Linked DNA regions of Homo sapiens: region 2 is linked to region 1. The links are contacts of gene promoters, found by promoter capture Hi-C in human tissues and cell types (Jung and others, 2019). All regions are on one chromosome and are shown on one strand. The core of a region is centred on a gene start or on the middle of the fragment in contact, and the rest is flanking DNA. Distances in the headings are between cores, read along the strand shown. Region 1 holds the start of PPP5C (protein phosphatase 5 catalytic subunit). Region 2 holds the start of PTGIR (prostaglandin I2 receptor).

Evidence for each region. The method cuts DNA at HindIII sites, captures the fragments that hold promoters and counts their contacts. A contact is called where the count stands out against the background at its distance.
Region 2: the fragment with the promoter of PTGIR here is called in contact with the fragment with the promoter of PPP5C in region 1 in 2 of the 25 tissues and cell types used here (mesenchymal stem cells and small bowel).

The regions. Positions count from the first base shown.
Region 1 is chr19:46,345,708-46,348,447 of GRCh38, forward strand. PPP5C (protein phosphatase 5 catalytic subunit) reads left to right here and starts at 1,380. Exons shown (of 13, transcript NM_006247.4): 1 at 1,380-1,510. The coding sequence starts at 1,390. RefSeq lists enhancers at 1,218-1,397, 1,498-1,627. The HindIII fragment of the contact is 31,019 bases long and covers 1-2,740 here.
Region 2 is chr19:46,623,769-46,626,552 of GRCh38, forward strand. PTGIR (prostaglandin I2 receptor) reads right to left here and starts at 1,321. Exons shown (of 3, transcript NM_000960.4): 1 at 1,229-1,321; 2 at 1-469. The coding sequence starts at 457. RefSeq lists an enhancer at 1,536-2,036. The HindIII fragment of the contact is 28,599 bases long and covers 1-2,784 here.

The DNA.
Region 1 (2,740 bases), core at 130-2,629:
GAGATGGGGTTGGACTAACAAGAGGTTTGGGAGTGGGATAGATAGGTTTAGGAGTGTGCTTCCAGGAGGGGATCCAGAGCCTTACAGGACTTAGTGCTACATGAGGGCTTAGAAAGGACAGACTGGAAGCGTGTACGGCGGGTGGGGATTGGCAAAGGGGTGGAATCTGGATATTAGACTATTCAGCCTGAGGTTAAGACTATTCAGGGTCTCCTAATCAGGAGTTTGGGTTTTCTCCTAAGGGTGCTGGGGCCATGGAAGCCTGGGAGCGAGAGTGTGCCATGGTTTTATCATGTCTTAGAAAGATCCCTCGGCCGGGCACGGTGGCTCACGCCTGTAATCCCAGCACTTTGGGAGGCCGAGGCGGGCGGATAGCTTGAGGTCGGCAGTTCGAGGCCAGCCTGGCCAACGTGGTGAAACCCGTTTCTACTAAAATACAAAAATTAGCCGGGCATGGTGGCGGGCGCCTGTAATCCCAGCTACTTGGGAGGCTGAGGCAGAAGAATCGCTTAAACCGGGAGGCGGAGGTTGCAGTGAGCCTAGATGGCGCCACTGCACTCCAGCCTGGGCGACAGAGGGAGACTCCCTCTCAAAAAAAAAAAAAAAAAAAAAAAAATGTGAAGGGTAAACTGGAGGGAGGCAGAGTGCATGCAATCAATGCTGTGATCTCAGACAAGAGAATCTGTAAAAACACAAACAGGAGAGTTTATTTGAAGATTCAGGATTTGGGAAGCTGAACACAGGAAGAAAGGAGATGGTGCAACACACTTCTAAGCCTTGCTCAGGACTTGAAATCCAGAGTGCCTTCAGTTAAAAACTCAAACACTGACCCTCAAGGTTGGACCCTTTTTGGCTTGAGAAACCACTAATTTTTCAGAGATGGGTAACTGAGACCCTAGAGAGGAAGGGAAGATTTGTTCAAGGTCACACAGGTAGTCGACAATAGGGCTCGACGCCCGGGTCCGGCTCCGCGTAGGGCATGGCGCTGCCTTGCAAAACAGCCACACCCGCCAGCGACATTCACAACCCACCCCCCAACCCTAGAGGACAGCGGGGAAATCCCACTTTCAGAACCGAGAAACTTTTTACAGCCTTGGAACACGGTAACTTTGGGAGGAGAGGCCACACCAGGTCTGTTTCCCCGCGCGCCCCTTCTCTCATTCCCTATTGGCTCTCTCTACCAGGGGTACCGTCTGGGGAACCTCTGGTCACCTTGTCCTCCGCGCGCTCTGTGGCGAAAGGGACCTGCGCAGGCGCGTGAAGGGCGCCTTCAGGGCCCGCGCTTTACGACACTTGTGCGGCAGCGGCGGCGGCCACCCGGCGCTCCTTCGCGACGGTTCGGCCGGGTGCCGCTGGCGGCCGTTGCCAGGGTAGGGGTCGCTTTGCGGCATGGCGATGGCGGAGGGCGAGAGGACTGAGTGTGCTGAGCCCCCCCGGGACGAACCCCCGGCTGATGGAGCTCTGAAGCGGGCAGAGGAGCTCAAGACTCAGGCCAATGACTACTTCAAAGGTGCGCCCGCCTGGCAGGGAGGGTGGACAGTGGCCCAGGCTGAGGGGTGCCGGGCCCGCGCGGAACCATAGCAACGCGGAGCTGCAGCCTGGGCGCGGGGCAGACACTACCAAGTGACCGGGCGTGGGGAGGCCCAGGATGGCGCTGCCAAGGAGCGACATAGGGGGCTTCGGAGAGTGATACCTAGGAGTGGCGTGCGGAGCGGGTGCTACTCAGTGGAGAGACTGAGGAGGGCGCCACCAATTGTGGGGCGAGAGGGGGACTGGAATGAGGGCGCTACCAAACGTGAGGCCTGTAGAGGGCGCTACCAGGCAGTGACATGTGGTGGGGGAGTGATTGATGGCGCTACCAAATGGGGAGTCCTGGGGTGGGTGCCGCCAAGTGGGGGGTAGAGGGGGCACAGCCCCAATAGAGAAGGCAATCGTGGGGGTGGGGAATGGATCATTAGATGGGGGGAACAAGGAAGTAGGAGATTTGGGCTGACCCGAGGAAAAGGAATGTGATGGTGGGGGCCTTGGGAGTAAGGGTGGGGATCCTTAAGAATAGTATCACTTAGAATATTGAGAGTCAAGTGTGGGGCACCCATTCATTCATTAATTCAACAAATATTTATTGAGTACCTGTTATGTGCCAAGGACTGTGCTTGACTTTGGGGATATAGCAGTGAATGAGACAGATGTGGCCCTGTCCTTAGCTTGTAATTTTGCAGGTGAACCAGACATGAAAAAAAAAAAAACAAAAAAAAACCATGTAAATAAGTAAAATACTTAAATTGTGATGAGTGCTTTGAAAGCAAACCAGCAGTGTGATGAAGTAGAGAATAAGGGTTGGAGGCTACTTTAGATAGGGTAGTGGGGGAAGGCCTTACTGAGCAGGAGGCGTTTAAGCTGAAACTCACAGAGGGAGAACTGGAGAGGAGTGTTCCAGGGAGGTAAAGCAGCCTGTGCAAAGGCCCTGGGATGGGGAATGAAAGGGTACTGGCATGGCTGGGGCTTTGGCTACTTAGGGGGAGACCAATAACAAGATGAGATTAGGACAGAGGCCAGATCATGCAGGGTCTCCGTGAGTCATTACAAAGACCAGTTTGGAATTTTTTTTTTTTTTTTTTTTTTGAGACGGGAGTTTTGCTCTTTTTGCCCAGGCTAGAGTGCAATGGCGCAATCTCGGCTCACTGCAACCTCCGCCTCCCTGGTTCAAGCGATTCTCCTGCCTCAGCCTCCCGAGTAGCTG
Region 2 (2,784 bases), core at 71-2,570, 280 kb after region 1:
GCGCGCAGAAGAGGACGCAGAAGGCGTAGATGGCTGGCAGCGCCAGGCGGGCGCAGCGGGGCCCGTCCAGCTGCGCGTAGAGGTAGGGGTGGCTCAGCGCCAGGCAGCGCTCCACGGCCATGGCAAAGAGGATGAGCATGGACGCCAGGCCGAAGAAGGTCATGGCGAAGGCGAAGGCATCGCACAGGGCGGGGCCGCCTCGGGCCAGGCCCAGCAGGGAGCTGTTGCGCGCATAGGCCACGAACACGGCCGGGCTCAGGAAGCTGGTGCCCAGCAGGTCGGTGGCCGCCAGTCCGGTCACCAGCACCGCGAAGGCCGAGGGGCGCGCCGGTCGCCGTGCGCTCAGGATGCCCAGGGCCAGCCCGTTGCCCACCACACCGGCCACGAACATCAGGGTGCTGGTGGCCGGCCCCACCGAGCCCCGCACGTAGGTGAGGTTCCTGCACGAATCCGCCATCCCAGGTCTGGGCTGGAGGGTTCCCAAGGTGGGGGGTCAGAGGGAGCCAGGGCTACCCCCACCACCCAGCCCACTCAGATGTCCCTGCTGGCCAGTCCTTTTGGCAGCTGGGGCCTCCCAGCCAACCCCCAGTTCTCCTGTGTGTGCGGGTATGCAGTCCTCTCCCCTCTGGCTTCTCCAGTATCTCTCTCTGTCTCTCCCCACCTTCCTGTTTCTCTTTCTCTCTTTCTTTTCTTTCGTTTCTTTTGAGACAGAGTCTCACTCTGTTGTCCAGGATGGAGAGCAATGGCATGATCTCGGCTCACTGCAACCTCCACCTCCTGGGTTCAAGCGATTCTCCTGCCCCAGCCTCTGGAGTAGATGAGATTACAGGCGTCCACTACCACGCCCAGCTAATTTTTGTATTTTCAGTAGAGACGGGGTTCCACCATGTTGGTCAGGCTGGTCTCGAACTCCTGACCTCAGGTGATCCATCCACCTTGGCTTCCCAAAGTGCTGAGATTACAGGTGTGAGCCACCATGCCTGACACCCACCACCCCCCCACCACCTCCTGTTTCTTTCCTTCTCTAGCTCTGTTTCTGCCATTAAAGAGACAGAGAACATCCGGGCATTGCCAGTTCTTTCCCTCCCTGTCTCTCGGTCTCTTGCTGATATCTCCCTGTCTCTGTCCCCTCCCTTGTCCTTGTCCTCCCCGTACCTTTCTCCCTCTAACCCCACACCCTCTACCTGCTCCTGCTCTGTGTTGCTGCATCCCCAGCCCCTCACCGCACCTCTCCAGTCTTGCCCAGGCTCTCCTGTCCCGTGCGTCTGTGCCTTCACTTGCTTTGCTCCTCGTGTCTCTCGCTGCCTGTGTCGGTCTGTGTGTCAGCTTCTCCTTCCCTCCTCCCTCCGTCCCTCCCTCCTTCCCACCCTCCTCAGCTTGCCTGCTCACCCCAGCTTTTTCATTTCCTCTCTCTGCCCCGCCCTCCCTCACTGTTCTCCAGAGGGCCCCCTGGCACACTCCCCACTCCCCGTCCACCCGCCCAATCCAGGACATCCATCTCCCATCGCTGCCTCCACTCTCCTCCCCACATCCTCTCTTGGTTCCCATCACTGAGCCACCTGCCACCTCCCCACACACAGGTCTCCTCCCTCCCCCAGTGTCTCCCTCTCTGGCCTGGGTGGGGAATTCCTGAGTCACCATCACTTAGGCTTGGAGCCTCCCGGGGTAGTAGGGGGCCTCTAGGAGGGACCTGAAGAGCACAGTTGACCAGGCTTCAGTGGGGTGGTCTTGGCCTGGGCTGTCTCAGGGTGGCCTCTGGGATCTATTCTGGGCTCCAGGCCCCGGGGCTGAGGACATTGCCCAGGGATTGAGAAATGACCAGGAAATTCCTCTCTGATGTAGTGTTTTCCAGACACCACTGAGAGTTCTGGTCCCTGGACACAATTCACTCCTTCCAGAAAGCTGAGGAAGGAGGCTTGGCCAGAGAGAGACATGCCAGTCCCTCGAGCCTGTCCCTGGGCACCCAGCTCACCCTGCAGAGACCCGAGAAGAAAGCATGAAGGGGTGTATTTGGTGTCCAGTTGTCAGGGACAGGCTTGGGAGACTTCCATGGCCCATGATGGAAAGGTAGCACTGGGCCACCGTCCGACTTCTCGCACAGCACCCCTAGGCCCCAGGCCAAGCTCTGGTGACCTTGACCTTCAGGAATCATATTTTGATCACAGGAAGCTGTCCACAGCTCCAACATTGCTGCCATGTGTCCCCCACCCTCCCCAAACACAGCCAAGCCACCACCGCTGCAGCCTCGGGCCAGTGTGACAGACCCACATGTTCCCGCTACCCGCACAGCGTTCACGGGTCTCCCTTCCCACGGAGTCGGTGGCTTCCCAGGCAGCCTCCCAGCCCAAAAGGGCCAGATAAAACCTCAGAGACCCTCTCTGAGCCCCGCTGTTTCTCAGGGGGACGGTCTCAGATCCATTCGACTTGGCTTCCTGTTTCCATCTGACCACCTTTTTTCTTGCTGCGAGATGGTCCCAGGTGAGGAGAGGGAGCTGGTAGACTTCAGCCTCCTTCTCTGTGCGTGGGGTAACACGGGCCTCAGGGACCTGGTGGCCAGCCTCGGCCTGCAGCACATCCCAGATTGGTCTTTGTAACAAGGAGAGAGGCTGTGCGGGTGTCTCTTGTCCAAGGCCAGGAGGGATGTGTCCAACCCAAGGACTGGACTGTGGGCAGCTGCCGTCTTGCCCTCTGTACCCCGGTGTGTGACCACAACCCCTTTGCCCCTCCCCCCCATCTCCCTATCACCCTTGCCCAGCTGGCACCCGCAGCTTCCAGCAGGATGGA